4 separate regions of the Homo sapiens genome follow, and regions 1, 2 and 3 are each linked to region 4. Evidence: promoter capture Hi-C in human tissues and cell types (Jung and others, 2019). All regions are on one chromosome and are shown on one strand. Each heading gives the region's core, a stretch centred on a gene start or on the middle of the fragment in contact. The rest is flanking DNA. Distances are from core to core; before and after follow the strand shown. Region 1 overlaps LINC01091 (long intergenic non-protein coding RNA 1091). Region 2 overlaps LINC01091 (long intergenic non-protein coding RNA 1091). Region 3 overlaps LINC01091 (long intergenic non-protein coding RNA 1091). Region 4 holds the start of SPRY1 (sprouty RTK signaling antagonist 1).

The links. Contacts are between HindIII fragments. The study calls those that stand out against the background at their distance.
Region 1: a contact is called between a fragment that was not itself captured here and the fragment with the promoter of SPRY1 in region 4, in 2 of the 25 tissues and cell types used here (aorta and dorsolateral prefrontal cortex).
Region 2: a contact is called between a fragment that was not itself captured here and the fragment with the promoter of SPRY1 in region 4, in 2 of the 25 tissues and cell types used here (dorsolateral prefrontal cortex and heart left ventricle).
Region 3: a contact is called between a fragment that was not itself captured here and the fragment with the promoter of SPRY1 in region 4, in 1 of the 25 tissues and cell types used here (dorsolateral prefrontal cortex).

The regions. Positions count from the first base shown.
Region 1 is chr4:123,816,648-123,821,589 of GRCh38, forward strand. All of the region lies in intron 3 of LINC01091 (long intergenic non-protein coding RNA 1091), which reads left to right. Among named protein-coding and RNA genes, the nearest start is that of LINC01091, 170 kb to the left of the region's middle. The HindIII fragment of the contact is 9,548 bases long and covers 1-4,942 here.
Region 2 is chr4:123,736,042-123,740,575 of GRCh38, forward strand. All of the region lies in intron 3 of LINC01091 (long intergenic non-protein coding RNA 1091), which reads left to right. Among named protein-coding and RNA genes, the nearest start is that of LINC01091, 88 kb to the left of the region's middle. The HindIII fragment of the contact is 6,603 bases long and covers 1-4,534 here.
Region 3 is chr4:123,777,405-123,782,288 of GRCh38, forward strand. All of the region lies in intron 3 of LINC01091 (long intergenic non-protein coding RNA 1091), which reads left to right. Among named protein-coding and RNA genes, the nearest start is that of LINC01091, 130 kb to the left of the region's middle. The HindIII fragment of the contact is 3,124 bases long and covers 1,827-4,884 here.
Region 4 is chr4:123,393,840-123,398,612 of GRCh38, forward strand. SPRY1 (sprouty RTK signaling antagonist 1) reads left to right here and starts at 2,956. Exons shown (of 3, transcript NM_001258038.2): 1 at 2,956-3,093; 2 at 3,772-4,017. RefSeq lists a silencer at 4,391-4,773. The HindIII fragment of the contact is 12,155 bases long and covers 1-4,773 here.

The sequences.
Region 1 (4,942 bases), core at 41-2,540, 420 kb after region 4:
GGACATGTTATTCTAAATCTGAAAGGAATGTTGCAACCTAATCCTTACCGTCTTCACTCACCTGCTTCCAATCAGGACTGCTACTGATGACGAGCTTAAAAAGGGAGGAAGAGGAATTTAGATTTGAGCCAATACACAACAACACAACCAGGCATGTGTTCCCTTAAAAATCTTGTCTTCCTGAGTGTGTATCCCAACATTATGGAAAATTATATATGTGTTTCATCCACACTGATATGTTTTTGTTTTTGACTTAAGACATTAAGGAAATCTGACACCCTTTTGAGGCTTCTTAATCAAATGCTTTAAAAATATTTCAGAGACACTGGATTAAAATAATTGCTGTAGAGGATGAGTGGTGGCTTGGGAGAGTTTTCACAAACTTTTGTAGTCATAGAGATTTTTTTTACAAGAAGAACTTGTAAGGAGATCCATGAGGAAAGAGAGAAGAGGCTGAGCATTCAAAGTGGGAGGTTAACTGCTACACGTGTCGGTATGATGGAGGGTTTGTTGGCCCGGAGGAGGATTTCTTGATGCTGAGCTTGAGTCCTTCTTCCCTTACCTATGTTTGTTGGGAATGTAGAACAGCTGCTTACCACCCATATGATTCCATTATTTAATCTGCCGGCTTTTTTCTGGGAATGAAATAATCCTGATTCCTTTAAGCTTTCATCATGGTATCTGTTTCTCTGCTTTATAATCATTTTCACCAAGTTCTTCTCCAACTCTCCTCATCACAATTACAACTGGGAGCTTCAGAAGCGAATAACGCTGCTGAATGTAATGGAAACATGACTAAGACTGTTTTCAAAAGCATCCTCCATTGGCACAGATAAATTACTGTACAGTTACTTCATTATGTCATCTGATTTCAGTAACTGGGTTTAGAGGAGACATTGCCCAAAGAAAGGGAAGTCACCAGTTTCAATTATTATTTTTTTTTTAATTTCTGAAAGGGGAAATTTCAGTAGTATTCTGTATTTGTCCTTCATTTCCCTCAGATTTTTTTCTACGTGTTAATCTGATCTTTATGGACAAACACATTGTATTCTGCTTATTTTAATTGGAATTAAAAGTATACTAATGGCTTCTGTTGGTGATGACATTCATTTATTCATCCATTTATGCACTCAAGCCATATGTTTGAACTGCTAGCGAGAGAAAAGCTATATTCTAGGTGATAGGGTTAAAATAGTGAATAAAGATAGATATAGTACCTACAGTCTTGTGGTGGAGAAAGGTATTATACAAATGCTTATGTAATTGAAAATTGAAATATAAGAGATAAAAGAAAGAGCAAAGTTGTATGAGAATATAAAATAAAGGAAACTCACTGGAGACACGTTAAGGCTTCTCTTGGGAAAACAAAGGCACTGGAGCTGACATGTGGTGGGAAATTAATTGGACGAAGAGGCAAATGTGTTGGAGAACTGCGTTCTTTGTAGAGGGAACAGCATATTCAAAAAGTATTATGTATTTTTATATAGTTAGCAGACTTAAATTTCCTTAAATTTGTATTGTCTCCTTTAATTATTTTAGTTTGAATTACCTGTTTTCCCTTCATTTTGTCATAAGGAGTCCCTCATTTGAGTTTCTATTGTATGCTGATCCTGTGTTAAGGGATTTGAATTTTTCCTGATTAAATAACAAAATTTTGTATTGTGCTATACCATTCCTTAGGGCTCCACTCTGAATAAAAAACGGCTAATGGCTTTCACTTTTCATCCTAGACTTTGTTTAGTGTGACACTTACTGAACCCTCCATAAATCCCTGTAGTCATGTCTGTGTAGACATACATTGTTACAGAGGCACTCTGTCCTTTTTTCTGCTTTTGGAGAATAGGTGCTAAATTTTCCCACATTCTAAGATAATTTCATTGAATAGGACAGCCTCCTTATAAAATGGCGATAAGCATATATGACCCCCCTACATATCCCAGTAGCTGTATAGTTCTGCTTTGAGCTGCCTGATTAATTGACTCCCTAAGTCCCGCCCTAAATTCTTGATTAGTTAAGATTCCCCACATTCCTGACTTTTCCTTGAATTCTGTAGTCCCTCAAATTTGACTTACCCGTCCTGACTGTTGGCTACTCTTTAAATATCTTAGTTTGCAGCCCTGATTGACAGTCCCTGCATGGTTGTTCTTCAAGCACATATTGAACATTACATTCTCATGTGCCCTAGAACTATGGGTTTGATCGGTGTCTTTTAAATCATTCATAAAAAAAAATGCAGGAAACTCAAACAAGATAGACAATATGATATAAAACAATGTTTGGAATATGGTCCTTCTTGGCTGGGTGTGGTGGCTCACACCTGTAATCCCAGCACTTTGGGAGGCTCAGGAGGGCGGATCACGAGGTCAAAAGATCGAGATCATCCTGGCCAACATGGTGAAACCCCATCTCTACTAAAACTACAAAAATTAGGTGGGTGTGGTGGCACACCTGTAGTCCCAGCTACTCAGGGGGCTGAGGCAGGAGAATCGCTTGAACCCGGGAGACGGAGGTTGCAGTGAGCTGAGATCGCGCCACTGCACTCCAGCCCTGGCAACAGAGCAAGACTCTTGTCTCAAAAAAAAAAAAAAAAAAAGAATATGGTCCTTCCTTTCAAAAGAAGGACTTACAGTAAAAGGATTTCCATTTTCAGTGGCAATACCTTTGATTATTAAGGATGTTCATCACTTCCCTTTGTGAGGCAGGAAGAATGGCTTATCCAAAATCATTCATTTTGTTGTGAAAAGAATATTTTATTCATTTCAAGTGGGCACATTCATTCTTCCACATTGAGTTCTGTGGACTCCTAGATGATATGAGGATACTAACTAGATCTAGATAACTCCTAATTCTCTAGTATCCATCTCTTTGCCCTCCTGATCTCAGGCTTACCAAATTATGGACATGACTCATTTCTCTCCATATTCTATTACTCATACAACTTGACAAATATTCAAACAATATGGCAAAGATTGAGCATCACTTTTTCTTTTTCTTAACTCTAAAACTTCTTGATGGTCTGTTATCTTCTGGGCTCCCCTTCTTCATCCACCTGTTTCTCTTATTTGCTTTTGAGCTTCATTAGATCTCCCATTATGATAGTTTTCTTCTCTACAAAAGAGAAATGAAACATAAATACTATCTCCTCTAAGTAGTTGTAAGGAGTTTGCCAAATTGCAACATCAGAGGGAACAGTCCCCACAAGACTGCCCTCACCTTTGGACAGCAATTGCAAGTTCAGAGACTTCCCAAAACCACACTCAGTTTTGATAACCTGCTATTATGACTCACAGAACTCAGGAAAGTGCTATATTTGCAATTAGTTTTCTATTGAAAGGAGGCAAATTAGAACTGGCCAAAGAAAGAGACACACTGGGCAAATTCTGGGAGGCAAAGTTTCTGGTCATCTCCAGGTGGAATCCTGGATGGCATTACCTCCTCCAGGCTACTATGTGAGACAATACTCAATGAATACTGCCCAGGAGGAGCCTCACTTGATCTTCAGTATCTGAAGTTTTCATGGGAGCTTCATTATGTGGGAATAATTGATTGAATCATTGCCATGTTTCCAGCTCTCCTCCCTCCCTGGAGGTTGGGTTGACACCAAGGGGTTCACCATAAATCACCTCATTAGCATGAACTGTTGAGGTGTGCTTGAGGGTTCGTTATGAATAACAAATACACTCCTACCGCGCAGAAGTTCCAAGGGTGTAGAGATCACCTCCTGAAAGCCAGGGCAAAGGCCAGAATTCATTCTTACACAGTAGTTAATTAAGTGAAGAAAATCTGTCGCTCTTTTAACTAACATACTTTTATAATATATTAATATGTATTATATACCTAAACATATTATAACATATTCTATTTATAGTAAATAAATATGTATGATATGAGATAGAGATATCTGTGAAAATGATCAGTTGCTTGGATTATAAACTCCGAATGATATTTTCTTTTGAAGGATCTTATATACAGCCATGGGACAAAGTAAGTCACCATTAGAGGCATCATTATATATACAGTATTAGCACACCTACCTTAACCTCATTTTGTGGGAAGATGCCTCCAAATCTTTCATTTATTTATTAATTGGAATTATTTAATTCCTTTACAATTTAAAATGTATTAATTGAGAATCTAGGGTGGGTCAGGCACTATGTTTTAAATTTTGTGATGAGAACGACATAGTTTCTGTATTTGAAGAGCTACCATTCTATTGCAGGAGGCAGTGAGAAAAATTGTAATACAATACCATAAATGCTATACTAGTCATGAACCAGGTACTGGGGGAACTAAATGTAAGTACTTTCATTGAATTTGTGGGTAAGAAGTATCATCCTGGAAACAAGTTTCTTATGTCTGTCACATTGTATGTATAGTACTGGATAAATTCCAATGTTAAAATTAAAGTTTAATTAGGTAAGTTGGCATAAAGTTTTCATCTGTGTAGCCACTAAAATAGAAGTTGCTATTATATTTGATAGCTCCTTTTAAAAGCACCAAACTGTTTTATTTAACAAAAAAATCAATGAACATATTTTTTCATCAACTGCCAACAAAGTCTTCTGTTTGTATCATATTTCCACGGAATTTCATCTTCTTACTAAGTCTGTTTTGAGGGCTAATTTTGTCATTACTATATTCTCAAGACGAGAAAAATCACAATTCTCCTTTCTGGTTATCTATGGAATCTAGTATCTTGTTAGCTTCGTAATCATGTTTCATTAACTTCCTCAAGTACGTGCAAAATACTCTGAGAAACTGTACATTTCAGAGCTATATAAGAAGAGAATCATATATTTTGATCTTTAACTAAATGTGGTTAACATTGATTATACAATATTGTATTCTTTTATTATTTCATGTGTTAAACCTTTAACAGTTTCAAGTCTTAGAAATAAGATAAAAATCCTTGAAGAAAATTATCATGTAACATTATAGACAT
Region 2 (4,534 bases), core at 1,385-3,884, 340 kb after region 4:
AATCTCAAAACATCAATAAAATCTTTTCTTGCCAAGGTCAACAACTCCCCCGAGAATCTTGCGAGCCCTACTCTCTTCCTGACATTCCCATTCCCTCTGCCTTTCCCCTCCTCTATTCTAGCACTTCGGTAGCGTTTCCCTGTAATAGAGCTATGTAGGCTGGCATGGGCCTCCTCTAGACTGAGTTACCAGAGGGCAGGCAGGTGCCAATTTCATAAAGTTCTCTCCTGCAGGGCCTAGTAAAGTGATTTGCATAATAGAGATGTTTAGAAAGTGTTGGGTGAATAAATAACTTAATAATGACGATGGCCCAATAAAGGCAGTGCAGAGGGAAACATAATGACCTCAGGAGTAATTCAGAGATATTCTTACTTGAAAAGGTTTAAGTAGGTTATTTGGTTTAAACGTTGTATCATCTGAAAACTCAATTTCCTATAGCAACTAGTACCAGATTGAGAGGACATTTTGTGCTGTTCAGCAATGTGAGGGAAGCTGCCGCTGGAAAGGGGAAAGGAACCAGTGTTTGGAGGGAGGCTGTGGAACAAGATAGAAAATCCTCAAAGGCAGCTAGCTGTCCATTTGCACTCCTAGAAAGAGTCAGAGAATGGAGGGAGGGCAAGGCTACTATTGCAAAGCCACTCATAGAGCCAGCCACAGTGTTTGTGTAGGGAGGGTAATTTCCGATAAAAATAGAGAAAAACTTTTTTTTTTTTTTAAATGTTAAGCACTTTAAAAGCAACTGTGGGAAATTTTAATCATAGGGTGGCTCTTTCTTTCTGAAAGAAGAAAGAGGTATTTCAATTTTAAATTCAGTGGGTTGAAATGATTGTGTCATTTCAGCTAGAGGGGAGCACGTCAGCAAGTGGAAATGTTTTATCGTGTAAAGTATGACTTGAAGATGTCACATTTAAAATTTTAAAAAAGTAAATAATTTCTGTAGTTGGTTTTCTTCCTCCACAAGAACATTTAGAACTTTGCTGCATTTGGAAAGAAAAAGTAAAAATTTCAGGCATCATATTCACCATTGACATAGAAATAGAAGTCTTACTAAATGGGCTGGGTTTCTTAATATGGTTAAGTTATGCAGAAAATAGAACAAAGATCGCCCCTTAGGAGATAAACTTTGCTTAGAGGTACTGGGGAAGATTAGCCTGTGAGTTTATTTAAGTATTTACGCTTTGATTATGGGAGTTATTTGATAAAAAGAGATGCTGACTAAATTGTAAGGCCCTTGGTTTCCAACTCCCTGTCTTACTTATCACTAAAACATCCTCTATAGTTCATTGACCTGTTAGACATTTGATACAAATTTGCTGAATCAATGAATTTTAGGATGTTTGGAATGTAAGTCTGCATTGATCATTTAAAGATGTCATCAGCCACCAGTAAGTATTAATAATGATGATAAAGGCACTATTTTAAAAAAGATTAATATAAAAATTAGAGGTATAAAATGATGACTTTATGGACTGTCTTCTTGAAGCTGGCATTATTACATGTTTGAACTAACCTGTAGTTTATGGAATATAACAATTTTCAGGGCAGTGTCCTTTTACAGAGCAATCAGACCCAACAGTCAGATTAACTCTGCCTGAATATGAAGAAATATTCAGAATCATGAAGCTCTCAAGGCTATTAGTGATGACTAAAAAATATTGAATAAAGAAATTCCTGGTCAGAGTAATTAGTTGCTCTCTTTATTTAGCTGATTGAAAGATACGGCTAATTAGAAATTTATTTTGCTGACAAGAGACCTTTTCTAAAGTGATTTTTTTCACTTCCACTGTCAGAACTTTAGGCAAATCCCTTTCTTTTGTAGCCAGGACTTACACGCATGGCAATTTTTTTTTTCCCTTTAGGAGAATATGTGTACGCGTATCAAGTAAGGCATATTGTTCATAGTTTCTTTCTAGATGTGTGACATTATTTTTTCCCTACAGAATTTTCATTTATAATCTAAGATTCTTCGTTAGTAGTAACAAATTACTGTGCCTCATAATGGTCTATACTTGGAGCATGCTGGAAAAAGAGTACAGATGTTAATTTTTTATCACAGACATTCTGGAGACAATTAAACTAGTTTTGTTTGTTTGTTTGTTTGGAGACAGAGTCTCGTTCTGTCGCTCAGGCTGGAGTGCAGTGGTGCAATCTCAGCTCACAGCAACCTCCGCCTCCCAGGTTCAAGCAATTCTCCTGCCTCAGCGTCCCGAGTAGCTGGTATTACAGGCGCCCGCCACCATGCCCAGCTACTTTTTGTATTTTTAGTGGAGATGGGGTTTCACCATGTTGGCCAGGCTGGTCTTGAACTCCTGACCTCAAGTGATCCAGCTGCCTCGGCCTCCCAAAGTGCTGGGATTACAGGCGTGAGCCACCACCCCTAGCCTAGTTTCTTCTTTTTTCATGACATTTCTGCACAAGGAAGTCTGTTTTTGTTGTTGTTAGGATTTTGTTTGTTTTTTGTTTGTATTGCCTCACTAAATGCATTGTTAAAACCTGTAGTTATTCTCTTTACTAGGGCAATCTCTTCCCTCTTAGGGGGTTTGGATTCTGACTGCCTGGATTCCAGTTCCAGTCCTGCCATATACTACCTGCATGGCCTCAGTTTAGCATCTCTACTGTTCAAACCCTCTAAGTTTCAGTTTCCTCACTTGTAACATGGGGAAAATAATAGTCTGTTGAGAATTAAATGAGATGCACTGAAGGCCCTTAACTGCCCATAGTAGCACATCGTAAGCATTCTATAATTACTGTTATCGCTGTAGTTGTTTATGTCTCTTCTTCTTTGTCCAGCCTTCCTTCTTCCTATGTTTTTTTCCCCTCGCTCAGATCAACTCTCTCACTCAATATTTCCAATATATATTTTTTTCTGGTTAATTTCATTTGTTATGTGAATATAGACCATGACATAAAGTAGGGACCGATTTCCATGTGAAGATTTTAGAATAGATACCATCATATACCTACTACAATATGTATAGGAATAACTTATTTGAGCATCGAAACACTGTTTCACATGTGAAACAAACCTAGGCCTACTCTCTTGCAGTGATTTACATGCTTTCCAGTGTGTTCCTGGATATTCGGCTCTCATCCTTGCATGTATTTTCCCACACCTCTACATGTGCCATCTCCTTTGCTCATGCTTCGCCTTCCTTCTCTGATTTCTAGCTATTGATGGTTTTTTTCCCTTGCCATGCATTAGAATTAACGTCTTTTTCTAATATCGCTTCTTTGTGAAGCTTATTACCCTTCTATTCTGTGTCCCAGATACTCTATGTTCAATCCAGTGGGGCCGCACAGGGAGAATACACAGTAATTCAGGATGGCAGCGGGGTGGGGAGAAAGAACAGGCTGGTCCGGCTCCTCCACTCCCCTGTTTCCAATGGGGGTAACTTCCCTGTTGTCCTATGTGCTGGTGACAAGGGAGAGACATGAAGGAATTGGAGGAGTTCTGTTTTTCAGGTGCTTCCCAATACCCACTGGATAACATCCAAGCTCCTGAACGTGGTACACATATTCCCTAAGGTCTGCGCTCTTGCAGCCTTGTCTTCCCACTTTAAAATTTGTACCCTGGTGATACTGTCTTTCAGTGCCCGGCACATCACATCCTGCTTTGAATTTATGTGTCGGTGCTTCTTGTGTAATGTTTGTCTGCCCATCTTTACCTTACCGACTCCAAGTCTCCAATCCATTCTTCCAAGCTCAGCACAGAGCTTGTCTCCTCTGGGAAGGCTTCCATGAGGCTTTTGCCTTCTTCCTACTGAGCCAAGTACCCTCCTTTCCTTTGGATTCAACTGCTCGCTGGGAATAGCTCTGTCATTATAGACCCTGTTACTTTGGAATGGCCTGTTTATGGGTCTGTGTTTTTCTGATGGAATAAATTCTGTGACAGCAGGGACCACATATTATTCATTTCTGTATCCCCACCTTCTAGCATGCTATGTGGTTCAGTGTACACCAACCACGGTTATTTGTAGAACTCTTAAATTGACCTCACTGGGATCCGTGGGGATGAAGGCAGTGACTGACGAAGGAATTTTACTTCCTTTCATGGGGCTTGCCTGATAGTGGCCTGACTTTAAATTTCTTTCAGACAACTTAACTGGACAGATAATTTAGCTCTTCTCCAATTTGCAGTCTTATTCCAGAAGGGACTATATTTTAAAAGGTGGAATTCATATGTTTACATTATTTGTAGATTTTTTTCTTATGTCATAGTATAGCTTGTTTGCCAACCACATGTATTTCCCATTTACTCATTTCTTCTACAGAACACATATTAAGATAATGGACTTTCTAAACACATGAGACAAATACCTACAAAATGCGTGAAACAAAATGGCCCATCAGCAGATTTTCTCATAGAAGAAACCCGTAGGCACATAATAGAATGCTCTCAGTACAAAAACAAACAAGCAATTACCTATGCTGCTTCCTGTGGGAAACTCAGCATCCTACCACCCATGGTGATGACTTCTGTGATTTTTTTTGGAGGGGTTACATCATTCTAAGGAAATTCATTCATATGTTTGTC
Region 3 (4,884 bases), core at 2,139-4,638, 380 kb after region 4:
TAGCTAAGGGACTGGCAATGCAACTCCGTACAGCTGCACAGTCAGTCTCTTGCCAACTACATTGAGCTAATTTGACACAAAGTGGTTGTTTGTAAGCCCTAGAGAGCCTTTCCACATCTCAAACCCTGGAGCTGCTCAAAATACTTCCTGTGGGCTTCAAGTTTAGACCTAAATAAACTTGAAAAATCCATCTGGTGTGGGCTGATTCTAGAATTCTGGAATGTAAGATAATTTGGACAAAGACAGAAGCCAAGTGGAACTCTCAGAGCACTGTATGTCCTTGTAAAGGTTGGAGGCCTAAAATCCTATTTATTTTTCTCTTAAATTGAACTGAAGGGATGAATAGCTCATTGTGGATGGTTTATATACTGTTAGCCATCTTGCAGCATTGAGAACCTCTGCTTACTCTTACCTCCAATTGTATTTTTTTGGTGGAAAAAGAATATAAATCAACCATGCTATTTTCATTCAAACACCCATTTATTCTCTTAAAAATGTATCCTTGTGTTAGAAACATTTTGTTACTTTTTTAAATGAACGAGTTTATGAAATGTCTTTACAAGGTCATTTGTATCATATTTAAAGCTTTCATTGGTATTATAATTCTTGCATCTATAAAGATCTGGGTGAAAATGTAGATATTATTAAACTTAAATACCTGTAAAAACAGAAACAGAGAGAGGGAATTTTAGTTAATATAGGCTTTGGTTTCATGATGGTCCCTAAGTTTAAAATTGTGGTAAGTTTAGAAGGGTGTTGATTTTTCCTTTACCTAATATAAACTGTTATTTAATCAGTAATAAACAGGATAAGTAGCTATTTCCATGGCTAATTTTGTTTATATGTTTATCTTTGTATATGTTTTCTATTACATCTCCCATTTTAGATTGACTACGTGTTTAAATTCGTTACCTTAGGACTTGTTAGTGACAATACACCAGTCATAGGGTAGAGATATTGGTTGCTGCTGAATTTAATAATGAGTTATTATTCTAGGTTCATTAATTCATGGCATATTCACTCAACTCATTCATTCTATCACTTATTTATTTACATGGCCACTCTGTGCCACAAATCATGTTAAGGACTGTGGATAAGTAAAAAATGTCCCCTGTTGATATAGTTTGGATATTTGCCCCCACCCAAATCTCATGTTGAATTGTAATCCCCAATGCTGGAGTTGGGGCCTGGTGGGAGGTGTTTGGATCATGGGGGCAGATCCCTCATGGCTTGCTGCTGTCTTTGGAATAGGGAGTTCTTATAAGATCTGCTCATTTAAAAGTGTGTGGCACCCCCACCCCAATCTCTCTCTTGCTTGTTCCTGTTCTCGCTATGTGCCTGCTTCCCCTTTGTCTTCCGCCATAATTGTAAGCTTCCTGCGACCTCCCTAGAAGCTGAGCAGATGCTAGCACCATGCTTCCTCTAAAGCCTGCAGAACCGTGAGCCAACTAAACCTCTTTTCTTTATAAATTACTCAGTCTCAGGAATTTTTTGTAGCAATGCAAGAACAGCCTAATATACCTGCATCCCAGAAGCTTGCAATTGGTGAAAGGGGAATAGGTGTATGAAAAAAATGAGGGCAATTATATGAGTTAGAACTCCTTGAATTGCATGTGACTGAGACCCAACTTCAACTAGTTTAAGAAAAATAGGGAATTTATTGGCTCATAGAATCCAGTGAAGTTCTGAACAAAGCAAGCATTAAAAGAGAGGGATGCAGCCAAGCTTTATGGACACCCAGCAACAGTAATTTCCCTTAGGCCTAACTTTCTTTCTTTTACCTCTGTATTTCTCCGAGAATGAGACCTTTTTTTGTCCCTCACTACAGATAGGATTTATTGTCTGTGGTGGTGAACTCACTACTGCAAAGCATTGACTACCAAGCCTATGCTTTCCACAAGGGAGAGGAACCAACTCATGTTAGAAGCTTTGGTTTAAAAAATTCTTTTCTTTAAAATTATTTTTTAAGGGCTAGGATACAGGTGAAGGTTTGTTGCATAGGTATACATGTGCTGTGGTGGTTTGCTGCACCCATCAATCCGTCATCTAGGTTTTAAGCCCTGCATACAGTAGGTATTTGTCCTAATGCTCTCCCTCTTCTTGCCCCCCACCCCGCGACAGGCCCCGATGGGTGATGTTCCCCTCCCTGTGCCCATGTGTTCTCGTTGTTCAACTCCCACTTAGGAGTGAGAACATGTGGTGTTTGGTTTTCTGTTCCTGTGTCAGTTTGCTGAGAATGATGGTTTCCAGCTTCATCCATGTCCTTGCAAAGAACATGAACTCATTCTTTTTTATGGCTGCATAGTATTTCGTGGTGTATATATGCCACATTATCTTTATCCAGTCTATTATTGATGTGCATTTGGGTTGCTTCCGAGTCTTTGCTATTGTGAATAGTGCTGCAGTAAACATACGTGTGCATGTGTCTTTATAGTAAAATGGTATATAATCCTTTGGGTATATACCCAGGATTGCTGGGTCAAATGGTATTTCTAGTTCTAGATCCTTGAGGAATCGCCACACTGTCTTCCACAATGATTGAACTAATTTACACTCCCACCAACAGTGTAAAAGCGTTCCTATTTCTTCACAGCATCACTAGCATCTGTTGTTTCCTGACTTTTTAATGATCGCCATTCTAACTGGTGTGAGATGGTATCCCAATTTGGTTTTGATTTGCATTTCCCTAATGACCAGTGATGATGAGCTTTTTCTCATATGTTGTTGGCCACATAAATGTCTTCTTTTGAGAAGTGTCTGTTCATATCCTTCACTCACTTTTTGATGGGCTTATTTTTTTTTCTTGTAAATTTGTTTGAGTTCCTTGTAGATTCTGGATATTAGCCCTTTGTCAGATGAGTAGATTGCAAAAATTTTCTCCCATTCTGTAGGTTGCCTGTTCACTCCGATGATAGTTTTATTTGCTGTGCAGAAGCTCTTTAGTTTAATTAGATCTCATTTGTTAATTTTGGCTTTTGTTGCAATTGCTTTTGTTTTTTTAGTCTTGAAGTCTTTGCCCATGCTTATGTCCTGAATGGTATTGCCTAGGTTTTCTTTTAGGGTTTTTATGGTTTTAGGTTTTACACTTAAGTATTTAATTCAACTTGAGTTAATTTTTGTATAAGGTATAAAAAAGGGGCCCAGTTTCAGTTTTCTGCATATGGCTAGCAAGTTTTCCCAGCACCATTTATTAAATAGGGAATCCTTTCCCCATTGCTTGTTTTTGTCAGGTTTGTCGAAGATCAGATGGTTGTAGATGTGTGGTATTATTTCTGAGGCCTCGGTTCTGTTCCATTGGTCTATATATCTGTTTTGGTACCAGTATCATGCTGGTTTGGTTTTTGCATTGCCAGTCCCTTAGCTACCAGAGCCATTGATCAACTATTCTCTCAAAAAGGATTAATCAAAATAATCAGCATTTGCTATTCAAGGTCTTATTTCAAAACTGTTAATGTTATATTTTTGAGACCTCTAAGAAGAGATTTCATAACAATTTTTGTAACCTGTTTGAACCTTCAATCACAATGTCAGGAAATCTTGCTTTCTAAATTAAATTCCTCCTGGTACAACTGAAGTCCTTTTCCATGTTGTCTCCTTTGGGGAGATCAAGCATATTATAGTCACTCTCTTCTGAGAGAGTATAGCCTTGTATAGTTTGAAGTCAGGTAGTGTGATGCCTCCAGCTTTATTCTTTTTGCTTAGGATTGTCTTGGCTATATGGGCTCTTTTTGCCTCCATATGAAATTTAAAGTAGTTTTTTCTAGTTCTGTGAAGAAAGTCAATAGTAGCTTGATGGGAATAGCATTGAATCTATAAATTACTTTGGGCAGTATGGGCATTTTTACAATATTGATTCTTCCTATCCATGAGCATGGAATGTTTTCCATTTGTTTGTGTCCTCTTTTATTTCCTTGAGCAGTGGTTTGTAGTTCTCCTTGAAGAGGTCCTTCACTTCCCTTGTAAGTTGTATTCCTACGCATTTTATTCTCTTTGTAGCAATTGTGAATGGGAGTTCACTTATGATTTGGCTCTCTGTTTGTCTATTACTGGTGTATAGGAGTGCTTATGATTTTCGCACATTGATTTTGTATCCTGAGACTTTGCTGAAGTTGCTTATCAGCTTAAGAAGATTTTGGGCTGAGACAATGGGGTTTTCTAAATATACAATCATGTCGTCTGCAAACAGAGACAATTTGACTTCCTCTCTTCCTATTTGAATACCCTTTATTTCTTTCTCTTGCCTGATTGCCCTGGCCAGAAGTCCCAATACTATGTTGAAGTCTGGCATTTTGAAAGCAGGCTTATGCATGTGTATGTAAAAGAAATGTGTATGAAATTCTAAGTTATAAATTACATTTGCCAATGTACTTTGTAATGTTGGCCTGTACCATTAAAGATGTTAGAATTTTGCCTTGACACTAGAGTCTGATCTTTAGGAGGAGGAAGGACTTAAGGAATGTACCAGAAGGTTGGGAGAGGCAAGAGCTAGATCAAGAGGGGGATTTGAAAAGTAGGGGTGAAGATAAAGATCCAGTTTTAACTTGGAAGTGGAAACTACTTCCAGGAAGAATGATTCTAGGAAAGAAAAACTTGTTCTATATGGGGGTAGAAATTTTGAGTGGTGACAATAAGGCTTGGAGTCCTTCCAAACATATGAATTAGTTTCAGAATTATATTATTTGAATCAATTGAACTTGAGAATTGGAATTGGTAGACATATTAAATCATTGCATTTTTATTAAGCTTTTTGACTTGAGGTTTCCAAATATTAGCAACTGCTTAATTAATTGGGCAGTAATCATGATGACGGGAGCTGTCTTTTATGTCTTTCAATGTGTCTGGCTCAGTGTTGAACATATAGAAACATGACTTACTGATTTCTAA
Region 4 (4,773 bases), core at 1,706-4,205:
AACTACAAAGATTGTTTACAAAAGGAAACTGAAAATAAAATGGCCTATCCTTGCCAGCTTTTCTTGGGAAGTATAGTAATATAGTGACTATTGCCCTAAAAGGAAAGTAAAGAGAACTTAGTTTCCATTACCGGTCTTCATTGATTTATGACATGCTTATAAGCTAACTCATCAATGTCTGTGATTATTTAGTTTGTGTGTTTGTTTCTCAACAAGATAAAAAGACTGTGATACATTTATTTATCATGACTTCACAGAAACATTAGGAGAATTAATAACGTATTATTTTTCAAAAGCTTGGAACACATGATTGTTATTTTTATTTTGGCAAATAAAGTAGATACATGAATAAGTTAAGCTTCCTATAACTGTATTAATTTTTTTTTTCTTTTTGAGGCGGAGTCCAGCTATGTCGCCCAGGCTGGAGTGCAGTGGCGCGATCTCGGCTCACTGCAACCTCTGCCTCCCGGGTTCAAGCGATTCTCCTGCCTTAGCCTTCTGAGTAGCTGGGATTAGAGGCACAGACCACCATGTCCAGCTAATTTTTTGTATTTTTAGTAGAGACCAGGTTTCGCCATGTTGGCCAGGCTGGTCTCCTGACCTCTGGTGATCAGCCCACCTCAGCTTCCCAAAGTGCTGGGATTACAGGCGTGAGCCACCATGCCTGGCCATTTTTTTTTTTAATCACTAGAAGTTGTGAGGAGTTACTGAATTTTTTTCATTTCACTTTATTCTTTTTCAAAACTCAAATTAACACAAGCGATGGCTAATCTTGTTTTCACATGAAAATTAAGGACAAGTCAGGGCTCACTTTCCATTCCACTTTATTTAGACATATCTTAATAAACTAAAAATTATTATAAGATTTTTCCCATTGATATTTGCATTGTTTTTCATTTTTGGAAAAATTTCATACTTCCGTTATCCATTTTTAGTCAAGTTACAATGTAATTAAACTTACCAAGTGAAAAACAATGTATACTTTAAGCTAAAAATTTAGAATTTCTACAAAGTCTTATAGTTGCGGGGAATCAGGAGAGGCAAGTTTCATTCAATGTCTTTTAGAACCAAGGTGACAGAGCTATACGTACATTTATTTGTAATGTAATATTTAGAGAAAAACATATTAATGCATTTTAGTGCTAAATGACATGGAGGGTTATTGATCAACTCTGTACAGCATATTTAATTTCTTAATACAACATGACCCATGGTGATGGTGTTTTAGATAAAAATCTCATGGATTTGATTATTATAATTTAAAAATACTTGATCTAATGAAAATTATTTTAATACATTTCTGGTTGAAATAGAGTGTATTTGCAATAGAAATCTTTCAAATATATTTTGTAGGATTTATGAAGGTAGAATGTTCAGTGCTCCCTCTCCAGGTTTTATCATATTGGTGAACTGACCTCTCAGCTCACAACTGTGGTAATAGTTTTGAAGAACCAAATAAGATACTCTGATAGGATAGTCTATTTTTGATTTGTCTATTCCAAATACATTCACAAGAAACCTATCCATCACTAGTAAAATTTCATTACATCCCCAAATCTAATGAGATCTATGAAAAAAATACAATGAAATCAATTTTATTCTTTTAAATAGCCTATTTTAATACAATTCATAATATTAAGAGTGAATATGTAGCTTTTTGGCTTGATTCTTATTCTATGCTATTTTCTAATGATGCTTTTTTATTGTTATTCATGTTCTTAACAATGCTCTGTGTTCTTCAGAGGCAATTCCAAACACAACTTTAATTTTTGAAAGTGCTCAGACATTTGAAAGTCCTGTGTGTGTGCGTGTGTGTTATGTATGTATATATTTATAGTTTCAACAGAACCACTTGCTATTGTAAATGAGACTAAAAATGTACTTTGAACTAAAAATTTCCATACTTATATGTTTATATGATTTAGATTCTAGAGTTTTGTTATTGTTTGCTTTGTTTTGCCAGACTTTAAGCTACTCCTGATATATAGTACCTGGAAAAATATTTCCTTTCCACTAAGTTTTTGGTCTTTAGGTGGCTTTTAAAAGTTTCTACGGAACCTTCAATTCCACAAAAAGTTATCCTCACTGCAGCATGAAAAGGCACAACTTTGATAATAAATGCCTAAAATCCCATAGTTTGTAAGAAAGTAGAAATCAAGTTTCCTACTTAAAGTGTTTTTTTTCCAGTCATATCAGCTATTACTAAGAATTATAAAACTTCTTGATAAATTTTTTCTATTCTAATTAATTGACTTTTAGCTAATTAAAAAATATACGGGTTTGTATTTTTTGCAAAATTATACAACTATATTACAAAATTGAAAGAATTTGGTTTTTTCTCCATGTGCTTGATTTTTGGGAAATCATATAACAAGCCAAGGTAAAGCAATTATTTAAAAAACCCACAGCAGAAAATTTCACCTTTATTACATATGCTTATATTACATTTGCAGTAAGGAGTGCCACCTTTTGAACTTTAGGTTTCACATATTCTGAACTTTGTTGTAAATAGGAACTGTAATGTTATATAATCATCTTTTTGTGTCAATATACGTTTTCCCTCTAGTTGGTCAGAAGTGATGGCTTGGCATACAACTTTTTTCATTTTCTTTTATTCTTCACAATTCTTTTCTAATTCAACTTAAGAGTAGAGTCCACCAATCCTTTTAATTGAGATCGACAACTGAAGATTGCTAACTAAATCCGAATGTATTCCTCTATGACAAACTGCATTTGCAGAATTTTTAGAGGCACTCCCGAAGTTTTAAGAGGATGTTTATTACACGAGTCTGTAGGGCAACATTTCCAAGTTGGTACACATAAACGAAAGAGGAAACGATAGTTAAGGAAATCCTGTTCCAGGTTTTCGGGCAGCCCGAGTGATTGACACATGATATCACCGGAGGCGTGTCCTGGAGTGGAGGTGGAGGTGGAGGCAAGGAGCTGAAATTCTGCGTAGCCGGAGTGAGACCGCTCTGCAAACCACTGCGTGCTTTGCAGAGTGATTATCAGCACAGTTCCCTGCCCTGGATAAGGAACAGCTACAGTCGCTGTTAAATGTGCCTGAAAAGCAATTTGCAATCTTTGCATTAGGTAAGTACCGTTTCCTTCCGTAGACATTTTAGGAAAGATAAGGTGAGAAATGTTGACTTTTGCAAGGAACTGAACATTTATTTATTTGAACTTGCTTTCCAGCTAAGGTTACTGGTTGCATTTCAAAACACCGGTAGCATTCCCACTGCTAAAACTAATGCTCTTAAAGTAAATGCTACCGCTAAAAGAAAAAGCAGGGTCCCTTTCACCTTTCCTTAACCGAACAGTAGACGTTTAAAGTCTGAAACGATCGAATTTGTGAAACACAGAGCCGTTAATGCCTTTATGCGAAGAGGGGCTAGCACTCGGTGTGTGGACCAAATGCGTGTTTGTTTAGGCATTGTTGGCGACCGAATCCCGAGTGAAGCATTGGTTTAAAACCTGAATTTCCCGTCTCTGTGTATTGATTCCTAACGCGCAGAGGCGTTGCTTGAACGTTGTTTGAACTCCTAGGCATTCCAGGGGGCAAAAGCACCTCGGCAAAAACGTGCAGGACTGCATGTTACTTTGGTTCGCGGCTGACACGCCGACTGTGCGCCGGCCTGTCAATCACCGGGAGCAGCAACAGGGAGCACATGGCAACGGGCTGCGGGCGAGCTGGCCAGCGGCCCGCCCGGGGTCCCAGCCCTTCGAAGAAAGGGACATTCACGAGCTTCTATCTCTAATTCTCTGTCGCAGGCATTTCGGCCGTGGAACCCCAGGCTCGGAGGACTGGGTGTGAGCGCTGCCCGGGAGAGGCTGACCTGCCGGGACCGGAGTGCCCGGGGACGCTGTGCCCCCACTTGCCCAACGTGCGGAATCGGCTAAGCGCGTCGGCCTGCGCGGGGCACAAGGGACGACGCCCGCCTTTCTCTCTCCGAGAAGGATCCCCAAACCTCACTCTCTTCACTCCTCCCCGCTAAAAAAAAAAAAAAAAAGAAAAGGGTAAAAAAATCCCCCTCCCCCTCCCGGCCGCGGCAGCCTCTGCCTGGCAGGCGCGTGCTCCGAGGTTTCGCCGGGGTACTGCGCGGCTCCGTGACCCACCCGCCGACGGCGGTTCGGGCCCCGACCCGGGCGCTGCGGAGTCTCGAACGCCCGTGACGTGGATTTTTCGCTCGTCAGGAAGCCGCCATCCCTTCCTTCGTTCCTTGCGAGGAGCGACTAGAACCCGAGTTCTCTGAGCACACCGTGCCGTCAGCTGGCCCGTCACGCACTCGACTCCGCCACTCCCCTACTTGTTTTTCTGAGACTTGGGAAGCCTTCCTGAAAGGATTTGTAAAAACTGGTTCTTGGAAAGGGGCTGCAGAAGACCTCCCGAGGTGGATGTTACTGAGCCGCCCGGCGAGCACCAGCCGTGACAGGTCCGGGCCCGGCCGCGCGGAGCCGCGGGAGAACTGCCCTCCGCAGCCGGAAGGGGGCCGCGGGGAGCGCTCCTGGCCGGTGGCGGCGGGGGCGGGGGAGGCCGCGAGCCGAGGCGCTCCAACTCCGGCGATGCCGCCTCGCCCTCCCCGCCGCGGTTGATGCGGCACGTGCACGCCGCCGCCCGCACCAGGACCTGGGCCGGGTCGCACGGCTTGGCCCCCGGCCACCGCTTCGGCCTAGGTGAGTGTGTGCGGCGGCCGCCCTCGGCCCGCTGGGCTGTAGGCGCGCGGGCGGGGCTCGCTCGGCGCGGCAGGTGCGGACTCGGCGGCGCTGCTGCCC